7 separate regions of the Homo sapiens genome follow, and all the other regions are linked to region 5. The links are contacts of gene promoters, found by promoter capture Hi-C in blood cells and fetal thymus (Javierre and others, 2016). All regions are on one chromosome and are shown on one strand. The core of a region is centred on a gene start or on the middle of the fragment in contact, and the rest is flanking DNA. Distances in the headings are between cores, read along the strand shown.

Region 1 (3,258 bases), core at 446-2,945, 860 kb before region 5:
GACTGTCACAACATGCAAAGTAATTTGATAGTAAAATACTACAGCAAGTGCTTTCCTGTAGGGGCTACTAAAAGCTGAAGGGTGACCTGAATGGATTCCCCCAGACTGATCATGGTGCCGCCATCCCTTCCTGCCTGGCCCAAGAAAAGGAATTATCCTTCTGGAAGAGAAAACAAGTGCAGTGTCCTGTCTACACACACACAAATGCACACACTGGAAAGGTGGGGCCGGGAACATGCATCACCTACGCCAATCCCTGCTCTTCATTCAATAAACAACTGTGTGCCTAGCCTTATATTAGGGGCTGGTAATTCACAGATACGCAGCGCTTTGGCGCTCATTAATACACTTTGAAGAAGCTTATCAGATTTATCTGGATAGATATAGGAGTTGACATATAGAATGGCTAAATTACAAAACAAGGAGGTCACGTGGGCGGGGGTTGTCTTATCACAGTTATTCTTAATTAGCCTTGCTTATGATCACACCCACTAATGTTTGCAAAGCTCTTCTATCTGAACTTTAAAACTCACTTATACTTTAACTGTGATAGGGACCTAAACAGATTCTGAAACCATGGTTTGCCTGCCTAGTGATTGGTGGCCTTGGTTTTTAGGTCCAAGGAGCTGGCTTTTTTCTGAGAAAAGCACAAGTAAAAGCAAATTGGGCGCTGTAAGCCACCACTAGAGGTCAGAGTAGCCCAGGGTTCAGAGAGAAAAGACACTACCTCCATTTTTTTTTTCTCGTTTTGTCTGAGTTAGTTAATTCAGTGGCACTGGGTTAATCTTGCAAAACTCCACTTTCACATGCTACTCTTTGCTCAAAATTTGAATTTGTCAGTCTGGCATCCTCTTCTTCCCATCTATCCTTCTAATCAAGCTTCTCAGAAGGAGGGGAAGTTCGGCTCCAGCCACATAGGTGTGTGTCCTCCTTATCCTCTGACCAAAGCTTGTCCTTCCTACATATGCTCCTTTGCTAGCACTCCCACCTGAATGCATCCCTATGATCCTTCCACCTTCCCTCTTTCACTAAGAGAAACCTCAGCCATCTACCACTCCTCCAGGTTCACCTCAAGCTCCACTCACCCCTGCTGCTGGGAAGGCTCTTCTAGAGACCGAAGAAGCTGCACTAGATCCTCCAGCCCTTAACCACCTACAGCTCTGGCAGGATTACTCCTGTGGACATTCACTTTTATCCTCCTGTTATTTAATTGTTTGAAGGGCAAGCGTGTGTTTATTTTGTTTTCCCACAACTGAGCTGTAAGTTCATGAAGGGCAAGGGCTGTGGCTTAAACTTCTTTTGTGCACTTGATGTAAATATTCGAATGATTTCTCAATGAATGAATGAACAAAAGAACATTACTCACATTGGCAATGGTGCTAACAAATAGCATAATAACAGTAGCGATGTGGACCACAAAGATACCAGCCAGCAATACCAACATGTTGGCTCTTTTTTTTTTGGTAACTTGTGAGCAAAGAGAGTTCTGAAAAGAAAAAGAAAGGGACAAAAACGGTTACTGTCAGATTCAATAAGACGACTCAGCTTTCCCACACGTGTGGGCTATCTGCTAACATGAGGAAGAGCTGCACTAAAAACCATCACAATCTAATCATAAATTCCTGAAAACACCCCTGTAACCTAGTTCTGATTTGCCTAAGTGCCTATTCATCCAGTTATACATACCTACATGGAAACAGAATTTGGTTTCTTCTTGGGTATTTACATATTCATTTCTCTAATACATTCTATTTCAAAAAAGGAACAAGAACATTTTATGATAACTGTTCGTATTTTATTTTGTTTGTGTTTTAGAGGTTAAAAATAGGACTTTGATTTTCAAAGAAGTAGGCCTTTATAATTTCCAGGTCTCTGAACAATGTCATATAAATGTCCATTTTCCACTAGGAAAATGTCCATGCTTTCATCAAATTGCTCACCCAGCACTTTTAATAGAAGTAAATGCCTTCTGAAGAATAGCAGCTATTACTCAATGCCCATATACTGAATAGGCTACTAATATGATCCTGGGCGAGATATAAAATGTGAGAGGCACAATTCTATTATTATAATGCTGTTTGGTTTTCAATAATTATAACAACCTAATTACAGTTTAATGGTCTGGTCACCCTGTGACTGAGCATTTCAGACTAGTATTACTACACCTGAGCCTTTGGGCTCTGTGTGCCTCATGGCAGGAAGCCTGCCATTGGTCTGGGCAGAGAGTCATATTTTCCACAGCTCAATGTGATGGTTCTGGGGGCTTTAAAAGTAATGCAACTTGAGATAGCACCAAATGTGCCTTCTCCTTGTACATGACATTTACACAAATTCCAATCCTTCAGGACTCAATACAGAAGACAGGCAAATGCATAAATCACAGGGTGGGAGGATTGGGAACTAATATCGATTAAGAATGTGCATGGATAAACAAAAGCTTTCAGCCATAATCACAGCAGAGAAGGGAGCCCATTGATCATAAAGCCTAGGAAATAAAGGAAGTGTGAAGGATACACATGGGGGAGGCTATTCTGATTTATGTCAGCTACAGAAGGAGAGCTTTGTCATGCCTAAGACTGTCACAAAGCAGTGCAGGCTCAGAGGGACATCAAAAGGAAAGGGCTTGAGGTTATTCACACCCTAGACAGAATGGATGTGTGGATGCCCCAACCAAGGGAGGAGATGGCCAGGCGCATCCTGCAATTGTTCCACTGCCCTCTCTCACTCCACCTAATTTAATTGATGCTTTGAATGTGCTTGAGGCACTTTCATGCCACATCAGGTATTTATTAGAGAGCACTGATACTATAATTCCAACACTTCACATGCCTTTTATCTCCTCTCACTGTCTTTATCAGGCAACCAAAAATCTAGAGTGATCTAATATACATCAGGGTGCCTTGCTCTCTGCAAGCAAGGAATGAGAGGCAGACAATGGCTTCCACCATTCTCCCTGACCGTCTCCAACAGCCCCTTCCCAATCTGGCCACTTCCTTCCAACCCAGGCTGTTTTTTAGGAATGTGTCCAACTTAACTGTGAATGCAAAAATTATGACGTTTATCCTGCCTCTTCAGGGGAGAGGTTGGAGCTTTCATGTCTGCTATTAGTAATCCCCCCACACATTCAAATTCATTTTTGCTTTTCTCAGGTTCTAGCACACCTCCCCAATTTTCTGCTTGACTTAAATGCACAGTAAAAAGAGATTTTTGAATCAGACAGAGGATGAATTAGAATCATATCCAGTTATTTGACCGCTC
Region 2 (3,151 bases), core at 224-2,723, 810 kb after region 5:
AGAAAGAAAGAAAGAAAGAAAAGAAGGAAGGGAGGGAGGGAGAGAGGGAGGGAAGGGGCTAAAAACAGTTAAGTATTATAAAGCGAGCATCAGTCCAGAAATCCAGCAATAGTCCCTCCTGGAATCCACTGACTTTTCTCAACAGTTTTTGGCCCTTCTCTTTTAGGGTTGCCAGATAAAAATACAGGATGCCCAGTTAATGTGACTTGCAGAAAATAATAATAATTTATTATTATATAATACATAATTTTTTAGCATAAACATGTCCTTTGCCATGCTTAGTTTGGGACATACTTACACTAAAAAATTATTTGTTCTTTATCTGAAATTCAGAATTAGGCATTTTATATTTTAAATTCAGAACTAGGCATTTTATATTTTTATTTGCTAAATCTGGCTACCCTATTCTCTTCTTAATATTCTTCATCTCTCCCAGCTTTGCCCTCCTTCCCTGCCCCCTCTTCTAGGGGAGTCAGATCGAGTTGTAAGGAGAACATGCCCACTGTCTCGATGGCTGCAGCGTGCAATCCATACAGACGGTGAGGAAGAAATGGGTTTCCACCCATGCTGTAGACGAATGTTTGTGTCCTCCCCAAATTCCTTTGTCGAAGCTTAACAACCAATGTGTTTGGTATTTGGAGATGGGCCTTTGGTAGGTAATTAGGGTTACATGAAGTCATGGGGTGGGGCCCTCATGATGGATCTGGTAAGAAAAGAGAACACTGTCTCTCTCTTCCACCAGGTGAGGATGCAAAGAGAAAGTGGCTGCCTGCAAACCAGGAGGAGAGCCCTCACCAGGAACCAATCTAGCTGACACTTTGAACTTGGACTTCAAACCTCCAGTATTGTAAGAAATAAATATGTTTTCAAAGTCATTTAGTCTATATTATTTTGTTTTGAATAATACAACCTGAAAATACATTTTCCCCTCACCCTACCTGAGCAATATCTAAGTTGCTTAAGGCACCCAGGGCACATCAAAGGAGAAATGTCCCATGCACAAGGCACAGCCATGCCCAGGAGAAGCAGCCCGGCACAGAAGGGAGCACACAGGCTCGGGGCTCTGCCACTCATTCTTCCTGTGACCCTGGGCAAGACACTGAGGGGGGCTTCAGCTGATTTGTTTGTAGTGGGCTTAATAGTGCTTGCCTTGCCTCCTCTGGAAGGCTGCAGAGACCGGATGTTAAAGCGCTTTGTTATCTGTAGGGTTTATTTGAACGAGAAAGGAAATGTGCATATGCTCCAGGATGTCTGTGTATCCAAAGACACACGCACACACTCTCTCTCTCACACACACTCTCACACTCACTCACTCACACACACTCACACACACATTCAACACATGCACACACTCACACACTCACACACACTCACACATGCTCACACGCTCACACTCACACTCACACTCACACACTCATTCAACACTCACACATGCACACACACTCCCACACACACTCATACACATCACACACTCACACATGACACATGCAATCTCTCACATACACTCTCTCTCACACACACACTCTCACACACACACACTCACACACTCACGTGCGTGCACACACACACACTCCATGACATACCAAACCTGGCTGCATGTTCTCAAAAATGTGCTGCTAGGCACCATTCCCAGTTCTAGACCCAGCCCAGCCAGTTTACCCTTAACTTCATAAAAGTTCTCTACCTAATGTACTACCGACAGGCTCATCCCAGACCTAAATTTTAAAGATTTCCTAGGAGCTGGATTGTAGACTTTTATCCTCACCCCTCAAGCTGCAGTGGGAATCCTTGACCCCAGCCTAGACAAAGAACAGCTGCAGGTCATTCTCATGTGTGGACATGGAGGCCATGACTGCCTTTGCTGGCCAGCTGGGCTGAGTGGGCCTGGGGAATGAAGGCTGCAGGGTTGGCCCCGGGCAGTCTTGCCTAGGCTTGCCAGCATCCCCTGGCCTTCTTGATTTCCCAGGATCCATGAGTATGGACTTTAGGAATTCTGGTGAAGGGATGAAGAGCATGCAGCAGGGTGTCCTCAGCCCTGATCTACAGGAAGAACACTGGAAACAAGGCCGAGAACTTAGTTTGAGAAGTTCCCTACCCCACCCAACCTCTAGCTCTTGTGTACCAGTTCCTGGAACAGACTCCCCTCTCCTGAACACCACTTTCCTCTCCAGCATTACATTTCTCCAAAGTGCATTGCTTTTTGGGAAGGCTTTCAAGGATGCTCGGAGAAAGGAGGATGGAAATGTCCCACTCTCTAAACCATTAGACAGATGCAGACAGACAGAAGGAACAGCCAGCTTCTTTTGCTGTTTGTAACGTATTTGAAAGAAGCTTGGGTCCAGAACTCTGCCGAAAGAGCTGTATGCTGTGCAGGGAAAGACAAGCACTTTCCCTTGTGGGATCCTTGAGCTGAAGTCATCGCTGGTTCTAGAGCCAGTTTTACTGAACACCCATGAATGGCTGTGTTCTGAGTGAGTTGGTCACTCACATCACCCTGACCTGCCCCAAGTTAGATTTTACATGATCCTGCTTCTCCAGGAAGCTTCCGTGACAGCCCAGGGACCTCCCCATTCTCTGAAACACACAGCATTTGAAGCTCCACTAGACAGCTTAGCCCCCATGTTGTGCTATTTGGGGTTGTTCTCTGTGAGATAGTAGAGAGTAGTGGTTACCAGGAAGACCTTTGGTACTGGGCTATCTGGGCTGGAGTCCTTATTCTGCTTAATAGCTATGTGATCTTAGGCATGTGACTTGTGCCTCAGTTTCTACTTTATAAATTTATGGAAAATACTGCATCTGTCTCTGTGGAGAGAATTCAATGAGTTAATATATTTCAAGTGTCCTTGAAATGTATTGTGTCCATAGATGGATAAATGGATAAACAAATTGTGGTATGTACAAACAATGGAGTATTACGCAGCCAGAAAAAGGAATGCAGAACTGATGCATGGCACCATGTGGTTAAACCGCAAAAGCATTATGTGAAGTGAAAGAAGCCAGACACAGGTCACATATTATGTAATTCAATTTATATGAAATATCCAGAATAGGTAAATCTATGGAAACAGAAAGCAGATTGGTGGTTTCCAGGGGCCGAGTGGAGGGGAGAATGGGAAGTGGCTGCTTCATGGGTGCAAGGTTTCATTTTGGG
Region 3 (3,308 bases), core at 622-3,121, 690 kb after region 5:
TGCTGCTCTTCCGGGTTCTCTCTCCCTACTAGCTCTTAGAGGAATGGGGTGGGGGAGCAACTGGCAGCCCCATACGGTGGTGACCTGCCACTGGGTCCCAGATACCACAGCCAGCTATGGCCAAGACCGCACACAGCTACAACAAACAGCCACTGGTTCTCTCTCCCTGACCCAAGAGGCATCCTGAGCCACATCAAAAAAAAGGATGATCAGTTAATACATTCATTTATCTTGGGCTGTCTCTGCTGTTTCTGGCACATCCAGCCTGAAGGTTCTCAAGCTTCTTCTCCAGCTATCTATATTCCCCTCTAGAAAGTAGGCAACTGAGAAGGAGAGCATTTGTGAGTGCCCTGTGTGTACATGTCAGTACTTATGCCTCACAGGAGCCCCTTAGGTATGGGAGGTGGCAGTATGTTCGCCCTGACATGGAGTCCTGATATGTTTCAAAACACAGGTCTCTACCTTTCTTCTTTCCTCAACCCTCACAGAGTATTTGCTCAGGATGTCAACTGTGTGAGGTCTTTATCTTACATATCAAAGAGCCTGGCACCAATTAAGTCCGTAACAGAAGCTTAATAAATACCTACTGATTAAGAAATTCTATTCAATTAATAGCCATTGGCTGTCCTCTGTGCCAGACCTTGAGCTGGACACTGGAAATATAAAAATGAACCCATCAGACTCCTGTCCTCAGCAGGCTTTCAGTCTAGTGTGGATGATAATTCAAGGATAACTGGATTGTTGCCAATAACAGAAGCAAGTTCAATAAGCTGGGGGAACACTGTGCCCAGCAGCAACAGGGAGGCTTGAGAAATGGACTTCCAATGACAAATTGGCTGCCAGGCAGAAAGAAGATCGAGGGAAGATTCCAGGCATAAATGTTTGTTACATGGGATGGGCATAGTGGCTCATGCCTATAATCCCAGCACTTTGGGAGGCCGAGTTGGGCGGATCACTTGAGCCCAGGAGTTTGAGACCAGCCTGGTGAAACCCTGTCTCTACTAAAAATACAAAAATTAGCCTAGTGTGGTGGTACGTGCCTGTGGTGTCAGCTACTCGGGAGGCTGAGATGGGAGAATCACCTGAGCCCAGAAGGCAGTGGTTGCAGTGAGCTGAGATTACTCTAGCCTTGGCCACAGAGCGAGACCATGTCCTCCTGAGAAAAAAGTTCATTATGTGGTTGGAACATAATGTGGAGATGATACTAGAAAGGTAGGCAGTAAAGGGCCTTGCAGGTGACAAGAAGCTGTGGTTCATGCTACACTGTGGTACTGTGGTGTGAGACAGAGAGTAACAAGATCACATTTTTATCTGCAAAGAATCATTCCAAGTTGTGTTGGGGGTGGGGACAAAATGGAGGAAGGAAGATCAGAGAGGAGACAACTGAAAGGTCTGGGGCCAGAAGGAAGGCAGTGACAGCCGGTATGGAGGAGAAAGACGAGTATGCACCAGACTGCCTGGCAGGCTGGAAAAGATGGCACACCTGCCCTCCCAAAGCTTCCATTCCAGTAGCAGTAAGAAGCAACAAGGGGAAGAGTCTGTTAGTGCATCGTGGACCAAACAAGGGTCACCGTTCGCTAACCTTAGTCCTGGATGGCTTTTGTGGCAGTGCTGGCTTTAAGTTGGCCTTTGAAGAATGACAGAGAGGTGACTTGACAGAACCATTCATTTACTACCCTTCTTTTGGCGGTTCTCCCCTGTGGTTCGTATCCTGGTTTTATTTAGCCCTATCTTCATAAGACTCTTAGATTCTTGTAACAGAAACCTCCACCAAGAAAAGCTGCCATCTCCTCTCATACTAATCCCACTCATCAACATCTCTTGGCAGTTTCTGACTTATGTGGGACAAAAATAAATAAATAAAAACAATAACAATAAGACTCTGCCAGGCTAGCAAACTGATCCAGTCAGAGGATTATAAGAGACACCTGTTTTTCAATACAGCAGCTGCTAACACAGCAGAAGCATGGCATCGTAGTAACAAGAAAGAGTTCTCTTCCATTAAAAACCCAATAGTAGCAGAAACTGGCACGGACTGATGTTCAACTATGTCACCTGAATGTGAAAAGAAGTTCAAATATGACCAGACACATAACAGGAACCCTGCTTTGCCAACGTGGGAACCCAAACGCTAGTTTGCTGATGGGGAGGTGATTTACCTATTCATCCAAGTACACTAAGGCACAAATCCTTAAAGCAGCTATTAAATACTTAAGAGTGTTATCAAAAACACACTGAAGCTTTTTGAAGTTTGGTTGATTCATACCCTGTGGCTGACCAAACACCTCTTCACTTAAGCCAGCTTAAAGAAAACTATTGCCCAGTTTGGAATGTAGACACTAACATAGAAGCACGTAAACAACACTTTATTTTTTCAGTTCACCACTGAAGACAGACAAGACACACACACACACACATACACACACACACACAACCTACCAACATATAAACACCACAGGCAAACTATCTCAAATGTACAATATGTACACATCACCTTTTCAGACCAGACCAGGGAGATGCTCTTAGAAACAGCTTGCTAACAGCCCCTCACATTGCTGTTTAACAATCCGTTCATAGCCCATCACAAAGCCAGGCCTCCAAGGAGATATATTTTACATCTATATGTTAGGTTTCTTCGCCACAACAAGGCTGGATTTTGTGTAATCTTTTCCTCTATATGCTAGAAAACAGATTATGCCATAATTTCTGCAATTTATCATCCCATGAGCATGCGATACATGTGGCATATATGCAAACAGAGTCACAAGCACAAACCCTGGAATAAATGCAGGACGGTGCCCAAGAAAGCACAAGCCACTCCAGATAGGCCTGACTAAAGCTAAAAATAGCCCATAAAGGCATTGTGTCAGCTGCCCTCTCGCTGTCCTCCCTAGAGCGTGCTAATTCTAACCTCCAGTGTTGGTGCTTAAGCTTGAGCCTTTGGTAGCTGTACCTAGGAACCGTTCCCTAATCCAGGAAGCTACTTTCTAGGTGTTGGAATATGCAGAAATCGTTCAACGCACTGCAATTATTAGTCCATTCATGCACACAAATGCAGATAGAGACTGAACCTGAAATTGTGCATTTTCTCCTAAAGCCTGCCATTTGTGCCCTGGGGCACTAGGACCAGCGGAGAGATGTCCCTTTTGGCAAATGGTATAACAGAAACCTCTCAAGTGCTAAGCATGCTCAACTGCCCAAGAACCACCCAGCCAACAGGACTAACTCTTGCCTTACCCTGGCTGGTGTGCAGCAAGAAGTTTCTCAAAGAAGCACAATCTTGTCCACACAGACCCCACTTGAGGTCC
Region 4 (3,519 bases), core at 1,020-3,519, 760 kb after region 5:
CAATCAGTGTTTCCTAACTATGTAAAAGTTATAAGTTCCTTTTCAAATACGATAGAAACTATTGCCTAGAAAATTGCACATGCAGATATGGAGACATGTTTTGTATACAATTTTATGAGTGCTCTTGGATTTTTGTAAGCCATTTAGAGGTTCACAGTTTCAAAACCCTGCTTTAAATAACTTCCTGTTTGTCATACAATGGGCCAGATTCTCCAGCTTTCCTCTTCTGAACTTCCTAAGGAATTCCTACTTTTGCTTCCTTCCTGTTTCCTTTGCACTTCCTTAAAGATATCCTCCATAGTTCAAGGACTTGTAGAGCTGGAAGAAAACTTGAGAGAGCCAGGCCATTCATCTAATTTCTTTCCAGTCTGTTATCTTCCTTCACCCGTTAGCATCATTCATTTGTCCATTCAGCAACTCCACAGTGTTTCTACCTCAAACACTGATATGGACAATACCACTTTAAAATTTGCGCGGTGGTTCACCCCTGTAATCCCAGCACTTTGGGAGACCGAGGCGGGTGGATCACCTGAGGTCAGGAGTTTAAGACCAGCCTGGCCAACATGGTGAAACCCCGTCCCTACTAAAAATACAAAACTTGGCCGGACGTGATGGCCAGTGCCTGTAGTTCCAGCTACTCAGGAGGCTGAGGCAGGAGAATTGTTTGAACCAGGAAGGTGGAGGTTGCAGTGAGCCGAGATTGCACCATTGCACTCCAGCCTGGGCAACAGAGCGAGACTCCGTCTCAAAAAAAAAAAAATCTATTTCTCATATAAGAACACTTCATTCATTCATCTTACAACTATTCATTGAGCATCTCCTTGGGTCAGGCACTGAGCTCCATGCTGAGGCTATAATGGTGAGGAAGATAGACATTGTCCTTGCCTCCATAGGCTTCCATTCTCTTGGAGACAGAAACAAAAAAGAAGTTATCAAAGAAATTAATAAAATTACTTCAAGCTGTGATCAGTATTGTGAAAGAAACACACATGGAGTGGAAGAGAAGAATTACAAGTGGGGAAGTCCTCTTTTACAGAGTGGTCAGGAAGTTCTCTCTGAGAAGGCAACACTTAAACTGTGACTAAAAGATAAGAAAGTGTTTGCCATGCAAAAGAGGAAGAAAAAGCATCCACACAGAGGACTCATGCATTAAGGTCCTGTGGCAGGAAAGGATGGAGCGGAGTTTAGGAACTGAACGAACAAGTTCCTGAAGCTTTGTGAGTGAGAAAAAGAAGGTTCAAGATGGAGTTGGACAGATGGTAGGGGCCCGATCATGCAGGACATTGTAGGGCATGGTAAATGGTTCAGGCCTTATTCTGCAAGGCAGCATATCAGAGAAATTTTAAATGTGTGGGCTTTGAGGCCCGGCTGCCAGAGTTTTTACCCCAGCTTGATTCTTCACTGCCTATATGCGTCAGCCACTTGTTGTGCACTACTTCAGGTTCTCTGGCCTCATGAGTCCTGAGGGTCTTTAGCTACTTGCTCTGCTCCAGTGGTCAGTGTGACAGGCAGCTCTACCTGGGTTCCAGTGGGCTTTGTGTGGACCAACCTGGTAATCCCTTGCCTTGTGTCCTGTCACACTTGTCATCTTTTGCCTAGGTGCATTCCTGTTGGGGCAAAGATCTGCCTTTGGGCACAAGTGCAAGGGAGCTAATGCCCCACGGGGTAAACCTCTGACCAAAGAGTGAGAGATGCCGATGAATAAATTCTTCTCCTCTACCTAGTTGGAGTGACCAGGATAGCAATGGTGTTGCAAGACCAAGCAATCAGTTGTGCTTCATGCCATGCTGTGGCCTTTTCTTGTAAACGGTGGTCCTTCTTTGCCTGACTCACTCCTCTTTTCTGAGATTGCAATCTCCAAGAGGGGAGCAGCACATATGTATTTAGTGGGGTTCTGTTTTCTGGGAAATCCAAGTTAAGGTAGACCTCCTGAATGAATCAGCTCCCAGTGCCTCAGTTTCCTCATTTGATAGATATAAATTATGATAACAGCACCTGCTTCATAGAATTAAATATTACTTACATCAATCTGTGTAATGCTGTTACTATAGTGCCTGACACACAGTATGTGCCACAAGTGTGCTGTTATCATTATAATTTATTCTAAGTGAAATGGGGAATCATTGAACTTTAAAAAGAATATCCCAGATATCTGAAAATGTTTGATAGACATTTTAATATATTCTTTCTTATACCTATATGGGAAATAAATTAGAAGAAGACAAGAGCAGAAGTGGAGGGACATTTAGGAAGCAGTTGCAATAGTAAAGAGAAGAGATCTTAGTAACCTAGAACAGATTATTAGCAGTGGAAACCAATAGAAGTGGGCAGATCCAAGAAATATTTGGAGGTGGAACTCACAGAAGTTAATAGATTGGACGGAGAGTAAGTCAAATGGAAGGCCACCTAAAAATATATTTTACTCTTCCTGCCATGAGAATGATATATTCTTTTTCTTTTTCTTTTCTTTTTTAGACGGATTCTCACCCTGTTCCCCAGGCTGGAGTGCAATGGCATGATCTCAGCTCACTGCAACCTCCGCCTCCTGGGTTCTAGTGAGTCTCCTGCCTCCTGAGTAGCTGAGAATACAGGCACCCGCCACCATGTCTGGCTACTTTTTGTATTTTTAGTAGAGATGGGGTTTCACCATGTTGGTCAGGCTGGACTCGAGCTCCTGACCTCAGGTGATCCACCTGCCTTGGCCTCCCAAAGTGCTGGGATTACAGGCATGAGTCTCCACGCCCTGCCTGAGGATGATATATTCTAAATCCAGCCTTTTTTTCTTAAGATTTCTCCCCATCTATATGCCATAGACTGATATTTTCTTTTTACCTTTGTTGTCTTTGTTGAAATTCTTACCTTGCTCTTCACTCACACATCTCAAGACTACAACCAACAGGATATCGTCTACCACCTGTTTTTTACCTCCTGCCTGCTCCTGTGGCCTCAGTGATGGAATCTTAAAACAACAAGATACAAGTCTTCATCTTGTGCTCCCTCAACTTCCTGCCTTCTCCTCCCTACTCCTCAACTCAACCATCTGCTCTAAGCCGTTCCAGCAAACTCACTAGGTGGGCCCATCATTCACCCTCATATTTTGCATCTATGTTCTCACCTACTCTTGGAATGCCATTTTCATTCCAATTGGCTAAATTCTTTCTCCTTCTTTGCTCATTAAATCCTGACTCCCTCACTTACCACAATAGAAGGAAGTGGAAAAATGATCCTTGACTTCTCAAGCTAATCCCACTCAAGCCAATTCCTGCTCACCTTTGTTTCAGTCAATGCCAATTGACCCTTCCAGCTGTTCAGGCTGAAAAGCTTGGAATCTATCTATATACCTCCCTCTCTCTTACACCTCACATCCAATTTGTCAGCAAATCCTGTTGGTTTTACCTGCAAACAACATACCAAATCCAACCACTTCCCATGAACACCACTCCCATCCTGGTCCAGGTCCCCACCTCTACCCTGGATTATTTCTATGGCTTTTCACTGGGCTTTCTGCTCTGTGCTTGC
Region 5 (3,109 bases), core at 299-2,798:
ACTAAAATAGAAAAAAATTAGCTGGGCGTGGCGGCATGTGCCTGTAGTCCCAGCTACTCAGGAGTCTGAGGCAAAAGAATTGCTATAACCCGGGAGGTGGAGGTTGCAGTGAGCCGAGATCACACCACTGCACTCCAGCCTGGGCAACACAGCGAGACTCCGTCTCTAAAAACAAACAAAACACAAAACAAAACAAAAAAAGAAACAGGTTCATTGTATTAAAGCACCGAATACGAAGTTTCTAATAATGGAAAGGTCTACTTTGTAACTAGCATGGATTACCCCATGTAGAGAGATTCAAAAACTGTGATAGCTCTACACCCTGAACCCTGAAGTGTATCAGATGATAAAAGATAAAACACACTTGCAGATCAGTCCCTTGTTGCATCAGGAAAATCACTGCAATGGGAAATTACTCTGGTGTTTACTTTTCTTTGGTAACTCTTTCAAACCTAGCTTTAGCAACATTGTAATTCAAGAGTCATCCTTTGGTTACAAGTAGAGTTAGTTTCACACAATGGACCTTTGTTCACAAGCATTCTCAGTCAACCTAATCCTCCTGTAGTTATTGGTTAAGACTAGGGTGTGTAGCTGTTGGCCGTACAGGCCTAGACTTAACTTGCAATTGCATAGCGCTTCAGGTCTGCAAGCTCTTTCAAAACAGAGGTGAAGATACTGTCAAAGGTTAGACCATATGGCAAACTAAGTGTCAATGGTTTAGTAACGTTGCATTTGTGTGTGTGTTTATGGAGGTGGGGATGGGGCCAGCAGTAATTTAGAAACTTCCACAACCTATGCCCTATGCAGTTCTTTTCCATTCATTCAGTCAACAAAAATATTTTAGTTAAATATTTACTGAGCACCTATTGTGTACCAGGCACTATGCTAAGTGTTAGGGATACAGTTTTAATATATGTTACAGACACCAGCATTTTCACCATTATTATCCTATCTACAAACAATAAATCCCGCAGAAAGCCAAATACCTTCCCTGAAGTTTGTCTTGCAGATAATATTTAACTCAAGAATTGCCATCTTTAATTGAGGACTCCATCCTCCAATTATGGAAAGAGGATTCTCAGAACTATGCCCCCAATAGGATGCACTATAAGCCCTTGAACATCAAAAAACTGCTCTCAGTGGTTGCCTCTGAGGAGGGAGACTAGGAGACTGGGGCACGGGGGTGAGGGGTAGACTTGTCTCTGTGTCTATTTTTGTACTGTTTGACATTTTCCCCATGTGCATTTATTTTAACTTGCGCGGGCCGCGAGGCAAGGCTCACCTGCAGACCCTCGGGCCACCAGCAGGGAGGCACGCACTCCCCCTCGCAGCGCGCCCAGCCCGGGGTCAGCGGTGTGGCTGAGCTGGGGGGGAGCGCGGGGCGGTGGGGGGAGCCACCTCCCTGCGGGGCTCAGCGCTGGGGCCGGGAGCCCGGAGCCTCCGCGGGGAGGGACGCGCTAATGTTGCCGGGAAGCAGCTCCGGGTTGCAGGGCAGGAACGTGCCCTTCCCCCGCGGCAAACTTGCCGTCGCTGCGACGGAAGCAGGAACTTGCTAACCACAAAACCCGCCAGGCCGGTGCGGGAGCTGCGGAGCATCCGCTGCGGTCCTCGCCGAGACCCCCGCGCGGATTCGCCGGTCCTTCCCGCGGGCGCGACAGAGCTGTCCTCGCACCTGGATGGCAGCAGGGGCGCCGGGGTCCTCTCGACGCCAGGTAAAGGGGTCTCCCCAATACCCACCCCCGACCGGCCGCAGGCGACGTCGCTACCTGCGGAGAGAGTCGGTCCCCTCCTTTCCAGGGGCCGAGGCTCCTTCACCCACACCCGAGCATCCAAAGGACCAGCTGGGGCCAATAAGGGCTGACCAGGATCCTTGAGTCGCTGCAGTATTCCAAAGGGGACCTCTAGGCGGGCTCAAGGCACCTGCCATAAATGGCTCTGGCTCTGCGTTGACATCAGAAGGAGAGGCAGAAGAATAGCTCAGTAGGCAACATGCATTTCCTCAAAGGAAGAGAAAATGTTCCCTGTTTTCTTGTCGTTGACTCTGTATTCATTATTGAAACTGCTAATTGTCTAATTCTCTGTAGAGTGTGTGTGTGTATACAGTTATAAGCATCTTGGTAAATTATAGTGTGCTGTAAGACGATTTCCAATATTTGAACTAATTACGTGCGAGTAAGTTTTAGCGACTCTTGTATGCAGACGTTAAAACTCAGGGGCATCCTCTCTCACCCGCCTGTATCCTTTTACCCCGTCTTTCAACAAGATTCAACTCGACTTCAGGCCCTTAAAGCCTAAATAATAATGGATTAGAAAACGTCGCTAACCTAATATTGCTGAGCCTCTTTAATGATATAAAACTCTTAAACACTTCTCTCAATGCTGCATACTGAAAACAACTCCTGCCCCATCTCCTTACATAGTTCAGGTTTCTTTGCAAAAGCTTGAAAAGAGGCTACATTAGAATCCATTCAAAATAAAGTATTGGCCTGGTTTTCTCTTGATTCCCTAGAGGCTTGCAAAATATGGCAGCGTATTAAGTACCTTGGCCAGAATTATTAACCTGGGGAGTCCACGATAAGGTATCCATGGATAGAATTCAGGATGTCTGTGAACTTGAGTGGAAAAAATTATTATTTCACCGACTTCTGAAATGGAATGTAGGCAAAAGCCACAGTAGTATTAGCAGTAGCTATGATTTGCCCCCTGTAAATATTGCCGATATCTTTATATCACATGACTTGTTGCACGTTTCAAAATATTATCTATACTCAATACCACGTCAAAATTATGGCAGTTATTAGATGACCACTTGTTACTTAATAGGTTAATAAAGAAGCACATATTATGTCCCACAACTTTTTGTAAGTTTTAACTAAAATGAGGATAATAATGGGATCTGTAAAGATTAAATGACATGATATATATAAAGTGCTTAGCATAGAAACTGGCATTTTAGACGCAATAAATGTTACTATTTTACTGTATACAGAATTTTGACAAACAGCAAGAAAAGTATTAGACTTGTGTTTTATTACCATATACTGGTTTGTTTCTGGGTTTTTTTTTTTTTTTGGTTTTACCTTTTTTTAAAACTAAAAGTCCATAGTTC
Region 6 (3,584 bases), core at 170-2,669, 770 kb after region 5:
ATATTCATTGAACAATGAATTATGTGAGGTGATAAAGAAACTTTTATTAACAAGAATTTCATTGGTAGGAGGGACTTGACTAGATGAAAATCTTTTAATCACCTTGAAGTAAAAACTGAAATACTAGGGGCGTGTTACAACAAATTTGGTCTGCAAACAACTGCACCAAAGACAAAGGGAGGAATCTGTCCGGCAAAGGAGGATGGAGGTTAATGAGTAGAGGAGACTGAGGGAGAGAGAAAGCAAGAAAGATGGTGAGATGATGTGCACTGTGAAATGGAAATGTAGTCTATGACAAAGAAAAGTAAATTTCACTGTGAAAGAAAGGTAGGATTTGGAGTTTAGTAGGCAATCTAAGAAGGTAGGAACTGATATAGTTTGGATATTTGTCCCCACCCAAATCTCATATCAAATTGTAATCCCCAATGTTGGAGGTGGGACTGGTGGGAAGTGATAGGATTGTGGAGGTGGATTTCTCACGAATGGTGTAGCACCATCCCTCTTAGTACTGTCCTCACAATAGTGAGTGAGTGAGTTCTCATGAGATCAGATCATTTAAGTGTAAAACCTCCCATCTTACTCTCTCTTGCTCCTGCTCCTGCCATGTGAGACTCCTACTCCCTTTTGCCTTCCACTATGATTGGAAGCTTCCTGAGGCCTCCCCAGAACCAGAAGCTGCTATGCTTCCTGTACAGTCTGCAAACCCATGAGCCAATTAAACCTCTTTTCTTTATAAGTTGCCCTGTCTCAGGTATTTCTTTACAGTAATGTGGGAACAGACTAACACAGGGACATATAGGAGAAAATAGAACTAAGCAACATGGCATTAGTTTGGACATAATTACCTATCAGGCTATTACATTAGCTTGAATGATCCTCACAACAACACTAAGATTTAAGTACTATCATTATTATCCCCATTTTAAAATGTGGAAACAAAGACAAAGGGAAGTGAAGTAACTTAACCCAGTATCAGGGGAAACTCCTCCCTCATAGAGAATGGTGAAGAGTAACAAGAAGGCCAAGGAGATGACTAAGCCAGTAACCAGGTTGGCTTGCTGCCACTTTGGAGGTGTGAAAATAGACAAAGAGACTCAAGCAAGACAGCACAGCACACAGTGGGAACATCAGCATGGTAATTCTGGTTCTCCTGTCCCAAAGTCCCATGGGGTGGTAATGGGCAGCTACTCACACAGTGGGTTGTGCCACATGCGGGGAACCTAGGGTTAAAGGCTCAGCACCTCTTATAGCAAGCAGCAAAGGGGCTAGTCCCCTGCCCAAGGAATAAGCTGTAAGGTAATCATGATGTGGGTACCATGGCCAACTTAACTGTTACATGACTAGCTACAGAAACCTCTTTTAAGGCATCCTTAGAGATTGTCTGCCTTTTCTCATAAGGCAACTTCCATACAGACAGTAAACTGGAATACACTCTAAGGACCACCTTTCACTCTTTGCCTATATTTCATCTCATATTCTTCTACAACACATTGACAAAAAACATTAAAAATATAATAATTCCTAAACTGCATAGTTTGTGAGTCCCCTTTATATACATTATAACATTTAAGTTTTCTTTACAACAGTGGTTTTTATTTGGGGTTTGAGGGTAATTTTACCCCTCACTCCCTGGGGACATTTGGCAATGTCTGGAGACATTTTTGGTTGTCACACTAGAAGTTGGGGGAGTGGTACTGGCATCTAGTGGGCAGAGATCAGAGATGCTATGATGCACAGGGCAGCCCTACATAACAAAGAATTTTACAGCCCCAGATGTCAAGAGTGCTGATAATGAGATTGAGAAATCATGCTTCACAGTTTCCTCATATTATATAAGGAAAACTTAATGAAAACAGGCCCAGAATGGAGGGGAATCAACTAATGATGGAACAAAAGGTCTATCTAGCTATTGTAGTAGCAGTAGAGCATCACTAAGTATTTCAATACTTTGTCAATTATAAGAGAATGTAAGAATGAAGAGGATTTCATCTTTATGGCTGGAACAGTTGTTAGTTGATCTACTATTTGCATAGTTGAAGAGAACCAAGCACATAAAATCTTGTGAGTGGTATAGTTGATCAAAAGCAGACCTGCTCCCAGAAGTTATGACTCCAGACCATTGATGCTCACACCCAGGTAGAAAGGGTAGCATGTGAAGAAGACAGGGGCCTTATAGGTGGAGAGAAGCTTGCAGGTACATGATGTTTGCCACAGTTCACATTTGGCTGAGATAATGGGGATAAAAGTATGATTTTTCAAAGTGCTCTGTGGCCTTTTCCATCATTGCAAAGTAGTGGAGGCTTAGGGTTTTGTCCATAAGAGCAATTTAAAATTACTTCAAATTTCTGCAACTCTATAGTATTAACACATTTAAAGTAGATACAGAAATAAAAATGTGCATGACCCTTCATCAAGGATTCTTTTTATTATAATTTATAATTTCATCCAGATGGCCAATAATAGAATATAGGATTGCAATATAATTCATGAAAAGAGTGGTAAGGAAGAACTAATAGAGCAGCATAGTTTAATGTACAAAATTAATCAAATTCTCTAAATTGCTTGGTGCTGTGTTTTCAGTTTTAGTGTTGATATTTAGTATCTTTTTTTTTCTTGGCTAGAATGAGAACAAACTCTCTCACTGTTCTCACAAAGACATTCTGAAGTTTCTTGAAAACTATAGAATCTGACATTATGCTTGTGAAAGAGAGAGAAATCTCTAATTCAGGACCAAGTTACACAATGTGAAAAAGAGATTATGGCAAAAGAATTGGTGTCACCAGGTACCTCTGTGCATGTATAATTTTGATTAAAATAACAGATGGATCATATAGGCACAGAGATGGAAATTCTAAGAAAGAATTTAAAAAATGCCAGAGCTCAAAAACACTGTAACTGAAATGAAAAATGCCTTCAGTGGGCTCATCAGGAGACTGGACATGGCTGAAGAAAGAATCTTGGAACTTGAAGATATGTCAACAGAAACTTCCAAGACTGAAAAGCAAAAAGAAAAAAGCTTCAAAAAAACCCAGAATAGAATATCTAAGAACTGTGGGATAACTACAAAATGTGTAACATATCAGGATAAGAGAGAAAATAACAGAAGAAATATTTGAAGCAATAATGACTGAGAATTTTCCCAAACACTTGTCAGACACCAAACTGCAGACCCAGGAAGCTCAGAGAACATAAAGCTGGAAAAATGCCAAAAGAAAAAAAAAAAAGACACCTAGGCATATCATTTTCAAGCTTCAGAAAGATAAAGAAAAAATCCTGAAAGAAAACAGAGGAAAGAAACACCTTACCTATAGAGGAGCAAAGTTTAGAATTACAGCTGACTTCTCCATGGAAACCATGTAAATAAGAAGAGAGTGGAATCAAATACTAAACACGGTGAGAGGAAAAAATCCTACCGACTTAAAATTCTATGCCCTGTAAAATTATCCTTCAAAAATGAGGGAGAAATAAAGGCTTTCTCATACAAACAAAAAAATGAGGGAAACTGTTGCTGGTAGGCCTGCCTTCAAAGAAAGTTGTTGTTTTTTTTTTTTTTTTGAGACAGAGTTTCACTCTTATTGCCCAGG
Region 7 (3,539 bases), core at 699-3,198, 790 kb after region 5:
ACATTCCTTGACCATATTTCTTATATTAGACATCAGTCTCTTATTTTGTTTTCTTGGTAAGCCTTTCTTAGTAGACTTTTAAGGTCTATTATTAGGATATTTTCAATTTCTAGCATAACAGTTAGTCCCTAATATTTTCTCAATAAATATGTCTGGCTGAGGGAATGCACCAACACATATTTTAATGAATACATTAAATGTGTTAGGTTTTTAAATGTTGAGACCATGTTCTTTCATTTTCCACTTCTTCAGGGCTTGCTGGTCACCTTAGATGAGATGATGATTAACCTAATGATTACATAAAGTCACTAAATTAGGTGAAGCAAGACATGAGAAAGATTTCAATGGGAAGATAAAATCATCCTCAAGAAAACCACAGAGGTAGGCTGGGCACTGTGACTCACACAGTGCTGTAATCCCAGCACTTTGGGAGGCCAAGGCGAGAGGATTGCTTGAGGCCAGCAGTTTGAGACCAGGCTGGGCAACATAGCTGGACTCTGTCTCTACGAAACATTTAAAAACCTAGCTGAGTGTATAGTGATGCACACCTGTAGTCACAGCTACTCAGGAGGCTGAGGTGGGAGGATCACTTGAGCCCAGGAGTTTGAGGTTACAGTGGGTAATGATTGAGCCACTGCATTCCAGCTTGGGTGACAAAGGAGGATACTCTCCCCCCACCAAAAAAAGAAAGAAAACCATAGAGGTAGATCTATAGGATATAAATAGACTATACAACGTAAAAGCTGTGTACAGACATTAAACAAAAACCACAGTATCAATATTAAAGGGTAGAAATAAATACATTTGGCCATAATTAAGCTAATCTATTTTAAAATCTTCTGTAAGACAGACGTATCTTTAATTAGAATCCTTTTCAATGATTTTCATCATTTCCAACTAGTAAAGTCCTTTTAAAGTCAAGAATATAGATTTTTAACAAGGATCTAATGCCTGCAAAATATTCTTAAATTCTCTTTTCCTTAAATTCTCAATCCCTTTTATACTTCTTATTTAGCACTTTTCATGATTATCAGTCAGTAGGAACCGGGTGTTTGTGTCTTCCCACAAAAGAATGAACAGATGGAGGAAAAGCACCAATTTTTTTTTTACTCATGTGGTACCAATTTATCTCCTTTCTTAATATATTTCTCATAAAAGGAGCATAGTAATTTTAATTGAACCAAAATAATCCCAACTCTTTGCAAGGAATCATTGTCAGAGAGGAAATTGATCTTCTATCTGCTTTATGTTCTAAAACCTTCTGGGCTTCTACAGATGCTCACTTCATCTCTTTTTAAATAAAGGGCAGACTATTTGAGATGTTTTTACAGTGAGAAATGAGAAAAGTTAAGCGCTACGAGTGAGAAACCAGGAGTCTAAGTTCTCTCTCTGACATTGACTATCTGTGTGACCCTGGATAAGGCATGTAACCTCTCTGGTCTTGTTTCTTCATCTGTTAAAACTATTTGAATTGGTTGACATTTACCATTCTTTCCAGGACTCTCTATGATATTCAATCAATTATCCATCTTCTCCAACTAGTCTTTGCTCTTCTTGCTTATCTCATGGAAACACGTTATTTCCACCTTCTCCCACACTCAACTACTATTTTCCTTAGGAGAGACCTTGAGTACTGTTAAATTTCCTCAGAGAAATGTTAAGCAAGTCACTCAAACTCTCTAGGCTGCAGTTTCCTCATCTGTAAAAGAACAGATCACAAGCTCACCAGCCACAGATCTCAGCATCAGATCCTTACAGAGGACTGGTGACCAAGTGAGCAAGGCTCATCACTCTAGAGAGAAGCTGATGCCAACCAGCATAGGTCAAGGACCATCATAAGACTAGAGGCTTCTCACCCCTTTGCCCAAGGCTACATTATGACTGGGAAATTTCTAAAATATTATTTAAATTATTAGAGCAAACTAAACTCTGAATCAGATTCCTGCTCTGCCACCTCCACTAATCAGGTGCCTAGAAAGGGAAGCAGAATAGGCAATGTTGGCAATGTTATGTTAAATTGCTATGTTTCCTCCAGAGTGGTAACTGTGATTCAAGACATGTGACTTTGTTTATGTATTATCTTTAGCAAGGTGACCCTCACCTGGAAGATTAACTTTGTGACTCTTAAACCAGAAGGTTGCTTATTGCCCCTTCCTGTTTAATGGGGTTCATGGAGGTCCATACCTGCCAGCCATGCCAGTCCTGCTCTCTCCTGTGCCTGAGTAGTGATTTAGGTATCATTCTTGCCCGTGCAGACTGTCCTGACACTTCTGCCACTGTAGGAAAGACAAAAACACAAAACTTCCCAACAATCATATTCCTAGATCTTTACCTAAGTAAACTGAAAGCTCACGTTCACACAAAAACCTGTATGCAAATGTTTATAGCAACTTTATTCATAATCTCCAAAATCTAGAAGCAACCAAAATGTCTTTCCACAGGTGAGTGGATAAAAAAATTGTGGTAATTTTTGTTTTGCTTTGTTTTGAGATAGGGTCTCACTTTCTTGCCCAGGCTGGAGGGTAGTGGCATGTTCATAGCTCACTGCAGCTTCAAACTCCTGGGCTCAAGCGATCCTTCCATCTCAGCCTTCAGAGTAGCTGGGACTACAGGTATGCACCACCATGCTTGGCTAATGTTTTTTTTAATTTTTTTTTTTTTTTTCATGGAGACGGGGTCTCCTATGTTGCCCAGGCTGGTCTCAAGCTCCTGGGCTCAAGCGATCCTCCCACCTTGGCCTCCCAAACAGTTGGAATTACAGGCATGAGCCACAATTCCTGGCCATGGTACATTCATATAATGGAGTACTATTCTGCTGTGAAAAAAAGAATAAACTCTTGATTCACACAATGATGTGGGTCAGTCTTACGTGAATTTTGCTAATTGAAGGAAGCCAGACTCCAAAGGGTGCACACATTGTATAAATCCATTCATATGACATTTTAGAAGCAGCTACACTATGGGGATGGAAAACAGATGCCAGGGGTTGGTGGCAGTAGGAAGAGGGTAGATTAACTGTACATTAACTGCAGAGATAATTCATGGGGGGAATTTTTAGGGTGACAGAACTGTTCTGGGCTGGGTGTGGTGGCACACACCTATAATCCCAGCACTTTGGGAGGCCGAGGTGGGAGGATCGCTTGAGCCAGGAGTTCAAGACCAGCCTGGGAAAAATAGCAAGATCCCATGTTTACAAAAAGTAAAAAAATTAGCTGGGCATGTGTGCACATACCTGTAGTCCCAGTTACTCAGGAGGTTGAGGTAAAAGTATTGCTTGAGCCCAGGAGTTTGAGACTGCAGTGAGCTATGATCGCACCACTGCATTCCGACCTGGGTGGCAGAGAAAGATTCTGTCTCCAAAAGGCAGAGGTGGGGAGGGGGTGGGGGGTAGGAACAATTCTGTATGATACTGAGTTGTGGATAAATGGCTCTGCATTTGTCAAAATCCATAGAACTGTACATCACAAAGAGGGAACGCTAATGTATACAATCAAAAAAATATCAACCAGGATGGTGGGGACTGCAGACTTTCATGAATG

What was found. Contacts are between HindIII fragments. The CHiCAGO score rates a contact against its expected background, and 5 or more counts as called.
Region 1: a contact is called between a fragment that was not itself captured here and the fragment with the promoter of MANSC1 in region 5, in 1 of 17 cell types (total B cells). The highest score is 5.5, in total B cells.
Region 2: a fragment that was not itself captured here is called in contact with the fragment with the promoter of MANSC1 in region 5 in 5 of 17 cell types (non-activated CD4 T cells, fetal thymus, activated CD4 T cells and 2 more); the score reaches 8.5 in non-activated CD4 T cells.
Region 3: a fragment that was not itself captured here is called in contact with the fragment with the promoter of MANSC1 in region 5 in 1 of 17 cell types (neutrophils); the score reaches 5.3 in neutrophils.
Region 4: a fragment that was not itself captured here is called in contact with the fragment with the promoter of MANSC1 in region 5 in 2 of 17 cell types (activated CD4 T cells and M1 macrophages); the score reaches 5.3 in activated CD4 T cells.
Region 6: a fragment that was not itself captured here is called in contact with the fragment with the promoter of MANSC1 in region 5 in 10 of 17 cell types (activated CD4 T cells, total CD4 T cells, M2 macrophages and 7 more); the score reaches 11.1 in activated CD4 T cells.
Region 7: a fragment that was not itself captured here is called in contact with the fragment with the promoter of MANSC1 in region 5 in 8 of 17 cell types (activated CD4 T cells, M1 macrophages, M2 macrophages and 5 more); the score reaches 8.4 in activated CD4 T cells.

The regions. Positions count from the first base shown.
Region 1 is chr12:13,209,697-13,212,954 of GRCh38, reverse strand. EMP1 (epithelial membrane protein 1) reads right to left here. Exons shown (of 5, transcript NM_001423.3): 2 at 1,367-1,486. The coding sequence starts at 1,444. Among named protein-coding and RNA genes, the nearest start is that of EMP1, 15 kb to the right of the region's middle. The HindIII fragment of the contact is 1,489 bases long and covers 951-2,439 here.
Region 2 is chr12:11,539,118-11,542,268 of GRCh38, reverse strand. It overlaps LOC124902877 (a long non-coding RNA gene), which reads left to right. Exons shown (of 3, transcript XR_007063210.1): 3 at 743-875. Among named protein-coding and RNA genes, the nearest start is that of LINC01252, 7.3 kb to the left of the region's middle. The HindIII fragment of the contact is 1,720 bases long and covers 614-2,333 here.
Region 3 is chr12:11,662,883-11,666,190 of GRCh38, reverse strand. The region is part of intron 1 of ETV6 (ETS variant transcription factor 6); the gene reads right to left. Among named protein-coding and RNA genes, the nearest start is that of ETV6, 15 kb to the right of the region's middle. The HindIII fragment of the contact is 743 bases long and covers 1,500-2,242 here.
Region 4 is chr12:11,592,864-11,596,382 of GRCh38, reverse strand. No RefSeq gene overlaps it. Among named protein-coding and RNA genes, the nearest start is that of LINC01252, 47 kb to the right of the region's middle. The HindIII fragment of the contact is 2,108 bases long and covers 1,216-3,323 here.
Region 5 is chr12:12,348,681-12,351,789 of GRCh38, reverse strand. It overlaps MANSC1 (MANSC domain containing 1), which reads left to right and starts at 1,548. Exons shown (of 4, transcript NM_018050.4): 1 at 1,548-1,712. RefSeq lists a silencer at 1,238-1,547. The HindIII fragment of the contact is 5,175 bases long and covers 1-2,442 here.
Region 6 is chr12:11,573,811-11,577,394 of GRCh38, reverse strand. No RefSeq gene overlaps it. Among named protein-coding and RNA genes, the nearest start is that of LINC01252, 28 kb to the right of the region's middle. The HindIII fragment of the contact is 1,540 bases long and covers 650-2,189 here.
Region 7 is chr12:11,558,028-11,561,566 of GRCh38, reverse strand. It overlaps LINC01252 (long intergenic non-protein coding RNA 1252), which reads right to left. Exons shown (of 8, transcript NR_033890.1): 7 at 2,185-2,276. Among named protein-coding and RNA genes, the nearest start is that of LINC01252, 12 kb to the right of the region's middle. The HindIII fragment of the contact is 5,915 bases long and covers 1-3,539 here.